Regions from separate parts of the Homo sapiens genome. Here region 1 is linked to region 2. The links are contacts of gene promoters, found by promoter capture Hi-C in blood cells and fetal thymus (Javierre and others, 2016). All regions are on one chromosome and are shown on one strand. Each heading gives the region's core, a stretch centred on a gene start or on the middle of the fragment in contact. The rest is flanking DNA. Distances are from core to core; before and after follow the strand shown.

Region 1 (5,728 bases), core at 956-3,455, 260 kb before region 2:
ATCACAGTTTGTTGTTGTTTTCCATTTTCAGATGGAAGGCTGAAAGATAATAACGAAAGATTATGCAAAAAAAATCCGTGTTTAAAATAATGTTGATATGCCACTTGTGTTGCAGGATAATTATAGTAATTTGGCTATTACGCTATATGGAGTCAGCAGTTAGTTGCTAGAAAACACGGTGATAGGGGTGATTCAAGGGATTTTCATCCCAACTGGGTGTTTGATCCTGCTGACTTTTCTCTTGAAAATCAATTGCTTGCACTGAATACTTTGAATTCCCCCTTGATTAAATTGGCCATCAGTGGGTCACACCCATTGCACTGAGGTCACTGTGAGTTCTGTTTACAAAGAGTTTTTGATGATTCTTAAAATATCATGGACCAAATTTAATCTGAGCCAAGCGGCTAAGGAAGCAATTACTGAAAAGCACAGTTTTTGCACATGGCAACAAACAAAGGAAAATTTATTAATTCTGAAGCTCAACATGAAGCCAGTTATTTGACTACTGGGTCAGAGGCCTTCTCTCCACTGCATTTTGCTTGGACTTTCGGTATTTTCAGACCTCCATGGACAGATAGGCTCACTCAGTAGAAGACCTGGTAGAGGCATCTTGGAAGCATCTTTGACAACTTTTCCATTTCTCCTCAAGGTAGTTAATAGATTCAGGTTTTCTATTTCCTTTGAATCAATTTTGGAAATAAGATTATTCTAGAAAAGCTTAATTTAGTATATGAAGATGAAAAATTAGCATACAGTAGTGGAGATATATATAGGAGTATATGTATAATATATGTGTGTATATATGTATCCAACTCTGTGGAAAAATACTTAAAAAAATTTTTTTTCTTTTTTTCAGAGACAAGGTCTCATTTTGTTGCCCAGGCTGGGGTACAGTGGTGCAAGTATGGCTCACTGCAGCCTTGAACTCTTTCTGGGCTCAAGTGATCCTCCTACTTCAGCTTCCTGAGTAGCTGGACTATAGGTATGTGCCACCATACCTTGCTAATTTTTACATTTTTTTGGAGACAGGGTTTCGTTTTGTTGCCAGGCTGGTCTTGAATTCCTGGCTTTAAGCAATCTTCCTGCCTTGGCCTCCCAAAGTGCTGGAATTGCAGGGATGAGCAACCACACCCAGCCTGTCTTTTTTATTGAGTACTGATTTAAGTCTACATGAAATATTCTAAAATAAAGAGAAAAGCAAATCACAAAAGTAGTTATATAAAAATATTATTCATAATAAATGTGGGAAAATATTAAACTTCCCTAAAACTGAAATGCACATTAAAACCCAAGATCTTTTTCTCCCCCATTTTGCCTACTAAATTGTAAATATGCATTGTAATTAAAACACTTAGCTCTGGGCAAGAAGCACTGTAATGAGCACTCAGATTTTCTGATGCTCTGAAGGTTGACTGATATAACATTCTGGAGTACAATTTAGTCATGGTTATCACAGAATGCATTAGATGTTCATGTTCTTTGACTTCAACTATAGCAAATTTGAGGAAATAATACTAATACTATAAAAAGATCCATATGCAAGAATTTCACTAAGCTTAATCATAATACTAAAAATGAACAAACAAAAAATATCCAAATAAACAAATGTAAAAACCCCAAGTCTCCCACAAGGAGATGGCTAAACTTGTGAATATCCCTTAGATAGATATGCAGAAGCCTTTAAGAAGAAGGTTACAAATAGTGAGGGGAAATGGTTCAGATATAATCTCAGGTGAAAAAAAAATCAATGCAAAATGAATTGCAGTATCAGTAAAGTCACCTAATAAAACACATGTTATGAAGAGTACAGGGAGGCAATGAACTAAAATGACAAAAGGGCTGGAGTCATAGAAGTGGCAATAGAGCAACGCTTTTATTTCCTCCCTATATTTTTTAAAATGTGGAAACTATTAAATCTACAGAAAAGTTGCAGATACGTTTTTTTCTTCCTAATCCATGTCAACGTAAGTTGCCAACATGAAGTTGTTGGAGCACCTTGGAATACTTTTGTATGTATTTGCTATAAAGAGGGACATTCTCCTTTGCAACCTCAAACATCCACTGATATCAGGAAATTAACATGAATATGTTACTACAATTTAATCCACAATCCAAAGACACCAGTTACATTTCTTCATTTGTCCTGAGGATGTCCTTTGTGGCAAAAGAATCCAGTCCAGGATAACAAACTGCAGTTACTTGTCATATTGTCTTTCAATGTGGAACAGTTGCTCAGTCTTTCCCTGCTTTTTATGACCTAGCCCATAATTTTGTAGAACGTAATTTATTTTTGTTTGTTTGATGTTTATTCATGGTGAGAGTCATGTCATGCATGTGGAACTCTGGGCTCTCAGTCCATCCTATCTGGTGTGATACATTTTCAGTCTGCCCTGTTACTGATGATGATGTGTGTCACTTTGATCACTTGACTAAAGTGACTCTTTTAGGTAAAAATTAAAATTATTTTCACTTATCCCAGTCTGTGCAGAAGTCTGTAATAATGTCTTTCTTCCTGAACTCTGTATTAGCTCTACCCTGATTTTCACTTGGAATCAACTGATCCTGTTTTACTCCTTGCTTGGGGTTTCATCTTTGCACCACCCAGCATCCCACCACAGGTACTTGAGGCTGTTGAGCTCTCCTTGGGTAAATGATGCTCTTGGTTGTTCCATACGTCAGTCCTTCTATGCTTGAGCTGGTGTCAGCCTCTGGTAATTGCTGTGCGTGGTCCATTTCAGGCAGATGGCTCCTGACTTACTTTGTAGCCAGAATAGACTTCAGCAAGGCAGACTCCCTTCCCCCTCTAACTAGGGTGCTCACAAACGACATGGACCCAGCTCCCAAGTGCTCGGTCTAAAGCTTTACCTACAATTTATTCTCTCCTGTAGCTGTGATTATATCTCTTTCTTCTTAAAGTCATCTTTGCTTTTTACTCTGTCTTGTCTTTTAATTAGGTTTTCCTGTTTGGTCTTTTCAAAGAGCTAGCTCTTAATCTATCAAGTCTATGGGTTTCTTTTTGAATTTATTAATATCTGCTTTCATTTTGTGACCTCTTTCTCCTGATTTCTTTGAATGTGTTTTGTTCTTCCTATTCTAATTGTCTAATTGCCTGATTCATTCTTTTTTTTTTTTTTGAGACGGAGTCTCGCTCTTGTTGCCCAGGCTGGAGTGCAATGGCGCAATCTCGGCTCACTGCAACCTCCGCCTCCCAGGTTCAAGTGATTCTCCTGTCTCAGCCTCCCTAGTAGCTGGGATCGCAGGCATGCACTACCATGCCTGGCTAATTTTTGGTATTTTTAGTAGAGACGGGGTTTCACCGTGTTGGCCAGGCTGGTCTCGAACTCCTAACCTCAGGTGATCCACTTGCCTAGGCTTCCTTGTTTTAAAATAAAAGCACTTCTTGGGAAGACAAAGTTTTGCTCTACCAACTTAGGTCCAAGCGGGTGGGGGCCTGCAAATTGACCAACAGATTAACAGGAGAAAAAAGTATTATATATAAAATAATATATAATACTATGTATAAACTGGTTTGGTGGTTGTTAAGCTCTTCATTTCCCCCATTTGAAACTTCTCAAAAACATTCACAAACAAGGAGCAGGGTTGATTGCTATGGAGAGAAGACTAGGGCTACAAGTTCCAAGGAAAGAAATCTGCAAAAGGAGACAGCAACATAGATTAGAATGCGGAAACAAAAATAAAAATCAAGATTAATATCTGGAGCAACTATCAACCTAGTTTCTGAGACCAAAGGGCATCCAGTCAAAAAGACTTTTAAACATTGGGTTTGAAGCGTTTCTAGACAGGGGAGTGAGCATGGTATTGGCAAACTGACAGATTTCCCAGTTTGCAGTTTGAAGGTTGTTGGTGATGGCGTAGATAGCAAATCACTATAACCACGGTCATGGCTGTTTCCTGGAGCGCAGCATAGAAGATGAGTGTTATAGTGAGCTTCCTGAGTGGCCCACACAGCAGCAGCTCCAAGCACGAGGCCCATACTCACACTTGATCTATTGTGATGATGACTATTTTGAAGTTCATGTCAAGCCATCTAGCTTCAGCTCACAGGGCTTCTTAAGACCTTGGAGGGAAAGGGGCAAAACAAGACAACCTAGAGTCTCAAGGTTCCGGGCAGTCAGATTTTTCAGTGATGCCAAGTCAGGAGGATGGGAGAAAATTTGGAAACATTAATTACTGGCAACATGTGTAAGATAGCAGGATTCAGTTTACAAAAAGGTAGAAATGGCTCAGAGGTAATGAGCAGGATTAGAATCTGATAACTCACATGAGCAGATTATAGTTTTCCATTGAAATATAGAATTTATAATCACCCCAATTTTGATCAAAGATAATAAAATTAATATTATTTTGTTTGTAAAATAAATCTAGTTTCATTAAATTTGGTTTGATTATTTATATGAATACTTCAAAAATGGTAACAGACCACATTAAAGTTTGCTTTGCTGAACTGAGATTAGGAATCTCAAACTGGACTTTTAAAAGCCTGCTGGGACTAGGAAGTCAGGCCAAGAACTTGCTACCGGATTTCACCTATAATGCCTATAGATTTGGATGGATTCCTTTTCTCAAGGTCCCCCAAATATCCTAAGATTCCTGGGCCTGCCGGGAAGTAGCCTTACTAACTCACCTCCAAGGCTGGGAACCCTGAATGCAGGCACCAGTATGCTTTTTCCAAGAGGGCTTTGTAAGCATAGGCTCCATAAAGTCAACCTTATTTCCTTAAAGCTATCATTCTCAAATGACATTCCAATCTAATCCTTGGTCATAACCAGTTATGTCTTGTTACAAGGAGGACAGATTCTCATTGAAACTATGCAAACAACTATATTGCCATGAAAATGGGGACACTCAATAAGAGTTTTGGAACTCTGGAGGGATCAGGCAGGGAGAAAAATAAGATATTTCATTTCTGTTTACAAAAGCATAATGTACGAAATTGTTGTAAGTTATAGATAGCTCACAAAGAAAAGAGAGACGGGTTCCTTAAATCCAGGATAAAATTTTAAACAAAGCCATAATTTTATTCATCAGTTCATTTAGTCCAATGTAATTAATTCTTGTTCTGCTTGATCTAAGGTTAGTAGTTTTTTATGAATCCCCCAGCTTCTCCACTAGAGTTTTGGAATATATGATATAATCTCAAAGTTATTTATGCAATACCTTCAGAAGCCTGCACCCTAGAGTACTTGGCATATTCCTTTTCCATGGGTTTCCTTTTGTTGAAAACAAGTATTATAGCTTATTATAGCTTCTAGAAAAACTTCAGAATAAAACAATAACTATCCAGGATAAGAAGAGACTTAAATGGTGTGATTAATGATCTGATGAGAGTTCACTATAAAAATAGCAAAATTGATGAGGAAATTTGGTTGTTTCTGTGGCATAGAACTTCTAAAATAAAAACTGGAATTATGACTATAATATTATGCTATTGTTGTCTAATATCAGGCAAAGCAATACCAGCACACATCATAGCGTGGGCATTGACAAATTTCTAGGAACTTCATATACTTCCTGAAATATTTATATTCATAACATTTACATAAAATATGTGTAAAAATATAACCTTGGGAAAGTTATCTCTTCTTACTTGACAAAGCTTTTCATGCATTTCAACATATCTAATTTTATTTTATTTTATTTTTTCATTTTTCCATCACTCCCTATCCTAATTAATTTTTGATATCTCTTTTTTTAATAAGGTAAAATA
Region 2 (6,440 bases), core at 199-2,698:
AGTCTGGGTCCAAACGGAACGGCAGCGGAGGTGGGGGTGGGGGTGGGGGCGGGGGGAATCTTCGCTGTTGTCTCTTCCTGGTGGCACAGGGGAGGCGGCTTGTCCTCTCGGAGGCCTCAGCCTGCCTCAGAGTACAGATTGCCCCCCCTCCCCCCGTCCAGCACGCGTCTCTTTTGCGTCCAGATTGGCCGCGACCGGAGCTCAATAGCAGGAGGTTAATTTCCTTCACAAAGGTGAAGGGGGCACGGCTCCGTGGGGGCTGCGCCCAGACAGGCAGCCCCTTTATTTCGCAGCGCCTTGATTGGAGCCCTTGATTTAGCATCTGATGTCAACCGGCAAACAAAATGCCCGCTCGGAATGAAAATGCATGAGGCCGCGCGGGGAGGAGAAAGCCAACTTCACTGGGGCGCACGAGGCCGACCGCGCGTTTCGGGCTTCGGCCAACTCGACCCGGATTAACCGAGCCTTGGACCACGCGGAAGCTCCGGGCGGCCTGGGTCGGGCCCCGCCAAAGATGCCATTCCCAAGCCTCCAAGAACCCAAAAGTTCAGAAATTCACGTTCCTCTGGGAACCCAGCCCAGCCCGCCCGCGCTCCAATCCCGCGCTTTCGGGAGACTGAGAAGGCCGTGCCAATTCCTTCTCAAACTCGAAAGAAACCTTCTCTAGCCCCGTGGGCGCGCGGAGGCTGCGAGCACAAACATCGCCCTCGGCCACTGCCAGAAGGCCGGGCCCCCTGTCCACACTTGGAACCCCGGGGAACCCTTTTGCTTGGCCTCTTGGGTCCAGCGGCCCATCCGTCCAAGGTCCGGGCGGAGGCCGTCCGGACCCTGCTGCTCTCTCGGATTCTTGTTTATTTCCCAAACACCACGCGGAGCCACTGCGCCTCCGCAACGATCTCCCCCGCACCGCCCCGGCGCGCCCCCGCCCCCACCCAATCAGCGCGCACAACTTCCCCCTCGGCTCCGGCTCGCGGATTGAACCCTCCTGACATATTTGGGGCCATTCTTCTCCTTTGTTGCTATTTTGCTAGCGACCCGCGGGTAATCCCCGCGCGGGAGGGGGGCGTGCATTGTCGCGCTGATGGACGGGCCCATTTGGCGGCTCCGCGCCCCCCGGAGGAGAGACACAAAGCCCAGGCACGTGCGCCTCCCCATAGAGAAGCAGCAGACCGTGAAGGGAGGCGGGGCCGGGCGTGTGCCTGGACCGGGCGGGGCGGCGGCGCCGGGCGGGGCGACCAGGGGCGCGCGCGGGGGCCCCGCGCCCTCAGGTACATCTGCCGCACCTACCGGGCGACCCCCGAGTCCCGGCCCCCTTTTGGCCGCCCCATCGCCCTCCCACCCTGCCAGGCTGAGGAGCTGCGGACGCGCTGATTGGCTCCAGGGGAAGCGGGAGGCGAGAACAATGGCCCCCTCCCCCCGTTAAAAGGGAGCGGCTGCCGGGCCCGGGGACAGGGACGCGCGTGCAGGGCGCAGAGCTGGGCCGAGCCGTCGCCGGCGCCACGCGAGTCCCGCAGCCGCCGCGCCCGGGCAATGGGCCGGGGGCACTGAGGGCCGCCGGGGCCGAGCGCGGAGGGGGGACCGAGCCAGTGCCGTGCCCTCGGGCCGCGCCAACATGCCCCGCGGCTTCCTGGTGAAGCGCAGCAAGAAGTCCACGCCCGTTTCCTACCGGGTCCGCGGCGGCGAGGACGGCGACCGCGCACTGCTGCTCTCGCCCAGCTGCGGGGGCGCCCGCGCCGAGCCCCCGGCGCCGAGCCCGGTCCCCGGGCCGCTGCCGCCGCCGCCGCCCGCGGAGCGCGCCCATGCAGCGCTCGCCGCCGCGCTTGCCTGCGCGCCTGGGCCGCAGCCACCCCCGCAGGGCCCGCGGGCCGCGCACTTCGGCAACCCCGAGGCTGCGCACCCCGCGCCGCTCTACAGTCCCACGCGGCCCGTGAGCCGCGAGCACGAGAAGCACAAGTACTTCGAACGCAGCTTCAACCTGGGCTCGCCGGTCTCGGCCGAGTCCTTCCCCACGCCCGCCGCGCTGCTCGGAGGGGGCGGCGGCGGCGGCGCGAGCGGAGCTGGCGGAGGCGGCACCTGCGGCGGCGACCCGCTGCTCTTCGCGCCCGCCGAGCTCAAGATGGGCACGGCGTTCTCGGCTGGCGCCGAGGCGGCCCGCGGCCCGGGCCCCGGCCCCCCACTGCCCCCTGCCGCCGCCCTGCGGCCCCCGGGAAAGCGGCCCCCGCCCCCTACCGCCGCGGAGCCGCCCGCCAAGGCAGTCAAGGCCCCGGGCGCCAAGAAGCCCAAGGCCATCCGCAAGCTGCACTTCGAGGACGAGGTGACCACGTCGCCCGTGCTGGGGCTCAAGATCAAGGAGGGCCCGGTGGAGGCGCCGCGGGGCCGCGCGGGGGGCGCGGCGCGGCCGCTGGGCGAGTTCATCTGCCAGCTGTGCAAGGAGGAGTACGCCGACCCGTTCGCGCTGGCGCAGCACAAATGCTCGCGCATCGTGCGTGTGGAGTACCGCTGTCCCGAGTGCGCCAAGGTCTTCAGCTGCCCGGCCAACCTGGCCTCGCACCGCCGCTGGCACAAACCGCGGCCCGCGCCCGCCGCCGCCCGCGCGCCGGAGCCAGAAGCAGCAGCCAGGGCTGAGGCGCGGGAGGCACCCGGCGGCGGCAGCGACCGGGACACGCCGAGCCCCGGCGGCGTGTCCGAGTCGGGCTCCGAGGACGGGCTCTACGAGTGCCATCACTGCGCCAAGAAGTTCCGCCGCCAGGCCTACCTACGCAAGCACCTGCTGGCGCACCACCAGGCGCTGCAGGCCAAGGGCGCGCCGCTAGCGCCCCCGGCCGAGGACCTACTGGCCTTGTACCCCGGGCCCGACGAGAAGGCGCCCCAGGAGGCGGCCGGCGACGGCGAGGGGGCCGGCGTGCTGGGCCTGAGTGCGTCCGCCGAGTGCCACCTGTGCCCAGTGTGCGGAGAGTCGTTCGCCAGCAAGGGCGCTCAGGAGCGCCACCTGCGCCTGCTGCACGCCGCCCAGGTGTTCCCCTGCAAGTACTGCCCGGCCACCTTCTACAGCTCGCCCGGCCTTACGCGGCACATCAACAAGTGCCACCCATCCGAAAACAGACAGGTGATCCTCCTGCAGGTGCCCGTGCGCCCGGCCTGCTAGAGCGCGCCCTCCACCCCGGCCCCCGAACTGTGCCTTCGCTTGGAGACCCACAAAGAGAGTGCGCCCTGCACTCCCCGAACCCGAGTCCGCGCTGGGGGAGCCTCGCCCCCGCCCCCACCGGGTGAAAGTGTCGTCTCCGCTTCTCTCGGTGTGGCGTGACGGTAACCCCATACTCTCCTTTTGACTCCTTTTGGAACCCCCACTTTTACGTTGTGTCCCTCCGCCTCCCCCATGGCGCAACAGGAGTCAGTCTCTTTCTGTACAAGGGAGAAAAGCTGTACGCGTTTGTCTCGTGGTTGGAAGCCTCCCCTTGGCGGGGAGAAGCTTTTTTTCTTGCTAGTATTCGCTGTGTTCATGGTCTAGAAATGCGGTCTGGTCTCGCCTCGCCTACCAATCTCTGCTCTCTATGTATGTAGCGTACGGGTTGTTTTGGGTGAATCTTGAGGAATAAATGCCTTTATATTTCACAGGCTGTAAATTGAACTTCCCACACGATTAGCTTTATTATGGCTTGTGAACTGCTGGAGTCTGGCTTTACCTTTTTGTATGTGAACAAATCAAATTGCTTAAAAAAGAGTTTTCTTTAGTATAGCCACAAATGCCTTGAACTGTTGTCTGGGATTGTTTTGTGGGGGGAGGGAAGGGAGTGTTCCGAAGATGCTGTAGTAACTGCCTCAGTGTTTCACGTAAGACTTTTTGGTTTGATCATCTTTGTTGAGGTAGGACTATCAGTTCCCTCTAAATGTATATGTTGATTTATGAGTAATTGTTATTTATTCTTTATTTATTTATATTAATTATGAAGATTATGATATTATTTGATTGCAGATTTTTTTGGCGCGCTGCCCCCTCCCCACCCTGCCACTCTTGACATTCCACTGTGCGTTTTAGAAGAGAGCCTTTTTCTAAAGGGATCTGCTTAAAGTTTTAACTTTTATACCTATCTGAGTGAATTACAGACAACCTATCATTTATTCTGCTTCGAGGGTCCCCAGGGCCCTTGTACAACCGACAGCTCTTACTTTTAAATGCAATCTCTTTTCTACATACATTATTTTCTTAATTGTTAGCTATTTATAGAAAGCTTCAATAGAACTGTTTCAACTGTATAACTATTTACTATTCAAATAAAATATTTTCAAAGTCAAAGTGTGGTGGCCTGATTTCTGCATCACATGCTTTCAGGACGAATTTAAAATAGAGCTTCTGATGGTTTCTTAAAATGTAACTTTATTTTTTATTAGGAAAAAGGGAACCACCAGGATGGTGGGTTTTCAGAGCTGAACCTCAGCTGCGGAACTCTGCCCTTCTGGCAGCCTGAGGGTATAGCCTTGGTAGCGGCTGGCTGAAACAAGCCTTGTTGGGGTCCTTAGTAATGTGCCAGGAGGCGGGTTAGAATGAAGGCCCTGGGCATCTTTTCAGAGAAATCTAGATCAGTGTCCCTAAGAAGCTGTTCTTTGCACTGCACTTTCATTTAGCAAGTCCTTCATTCCCAAAAATTTGGGGCTCAGGGTGATAGTAATTCCTCAGATAAATAAAGTGGGTAGTTTTTGTTCACGACAAGAAAGGAGAAATGACTTTACCGTCAGATTTGCAAAGCACGGGCAGCAACCCGATTCACATTTGGATGCAATGGGAAGTTAAGCAACTGGGGGCAAGGGCTTAGAAATAATTTTCCAATCAGGTGAGCAGTCTGTTTGGGGGGAAAATGGAACACCATCTGTTTGGGGTATTAAATTTAATAACAGGTAATTACAATGTTTTCCATTATGTGTCACTCAGCTCTTTCAAGAACAATTCTGACTCTCACCAGTGAATATTTTGGGTTGTTTTCCTCTGTCTTGGAAACATCTCATGAAGGAGCTGTGCTAAATCTCACAATTGTGCATGTGTGTGTTCCCTTCCTTTTGTGTGTTTTTGCTGCCTTTTTTTTTTTCCTGAGGTCCGCTAAAGCTAACATTTGCCTGCCAAAGAGATTTTAGAAATCTGCACAGTAAAGGGATTTGCATCTCCAAAGAAGAGCTGGAATGAGGCTGGGAAGGGCAGTCCATGAGGAACTTGGAAGGACAAACTGAGGAAAGAGATCATTTTCAGATTGTGAGCCTCAAGTTTTCTGTGGGACGGGGTTTAGCTAGCAGGCTCAGCTAGCAGGAATGTGGAATATTCCTCCCTTTGTGAGGGTCTGGAAACAGCCTTCGAATAACAATGAAGGAGAAACCTCTACAGGTAAGTTGCCTCCAGGACAAATTGCATGGAGCTTTTTATCACTGATGACTACATATTTTACCAGTTTGGAAAATAAAAGAACAAAAAGCTCAGGGCTGGTACAATAGGAAAGCACAGGGACAGAGCAGCATTTATAACATCCTAAAAACTTTAAACGAAACAAAGAAAAACTCAAATGTGTGGGTTGATGGCTGCTGCTTCTCCCCTCCTGCAACAGTAATACTGGAGAATGGGAGCATTGAAAATATTCTCTCTGAGTTACACCAAACATTAAAAGATACCCCAAACTGAGGGTCAGTGTATGCACGTTCTGTGGCAATAAAGTTTCCTTAAAAACTGGAAGATTGGCCGCACATGGGGAGTCCAGACTCGTCTGCAGGAATGGTAGCTTGTAACTATGTTGGGCTCACTGTGGTTCTCGTCTGTAATCACAAAAACATGAATTCATCTAAGATCCACCTTCATGAGGGTAAATATAATTTGGTTGTTCACAAACATGTTCCTTCATCCCCTGTATAAATTTATTTCAATGGAATAAATGGAACCCGAAACATCTATGTGAGATATTAAATGAAACTGTATAGTAAATGGAGTTGAAGGCAATGAAACAGCGTAGAAATAGAAAAACTTGGTCAATTTTTATCACGGTAACACAATATGAGTTAGCAGAATATAGGAAGGGAATCAGGCTCTCTCCCCTTTTGCTTGCCTCCCTGGATAATACGTTCACAAGGTTCCCATTCGAGAACATCACGTTGAAACGCACACACTTTTTAACAAATCTGTGAAGGAGGCTGTAGGCATTCCGTGTGTTCTGGGGCTGCTGCAAGCTGGGAAGGCCATCCGTGGAAACTGCCCGAGAATTCCCTACCATCCCACAGCAAGGATTTGGTGGTGAGAGGCCCAGGGGGTCAGGAAAAGTAGTAAGGTTAAGGAGGGAGGAGCTAAAAGAGGGAAGAAATAAAGGAAGAGATTTGATTTTTGCCAGTGCCTTCACCCTTCTCTACTTCCATACAAATGTGGTATAATAAAAAGCAAAAGGCTGTTCAGCATTCCTTTGGTTCCACAA

What was found. Contacts are between HindIII fragments. The CHiCAGO score rates a contact against its expected background, and 5 or more counts as called.
Region 1: a fragment that was not itself captured here is called in contact with the fragment with the promoter of INSM1 in region 2 in 1 of 17 cell types (M2 macrophages); the score reaches 5.4 in M2 macrophages.

Annotation. Positions count from the first base shown.
Region 1 is chr20:20,106,790-20,112,517 of GRCh38, forward strand. All of the region lies in intron 8 of CFAP61 (cilia and flagella associated protein 61), which reads left to right. Among named protein-coding and RNA genes, the nearest start is that of CFAP61, 57 kb to the left of the region's middle. The HindIII fragment of the contact is 1,304 bases long and covers 1,554-2,857 here.
Region 2 is chr20:20,366,656-20,373,095 of GRCh38, forward strand. INSM1 (INSM transcriptional repressor 1) reads left to right here and starts at 1,449. Exons shown (of 1, transcript NM_002196.3): 1 at 1,449-4,294. The coding sequence starts at 1,613. The coding sequence ends at 3,145. RefSeq lists an enhancer at 542-1,312. The HindIII fragment of the contact is 3,677 bases long and covers 1-3,467 here.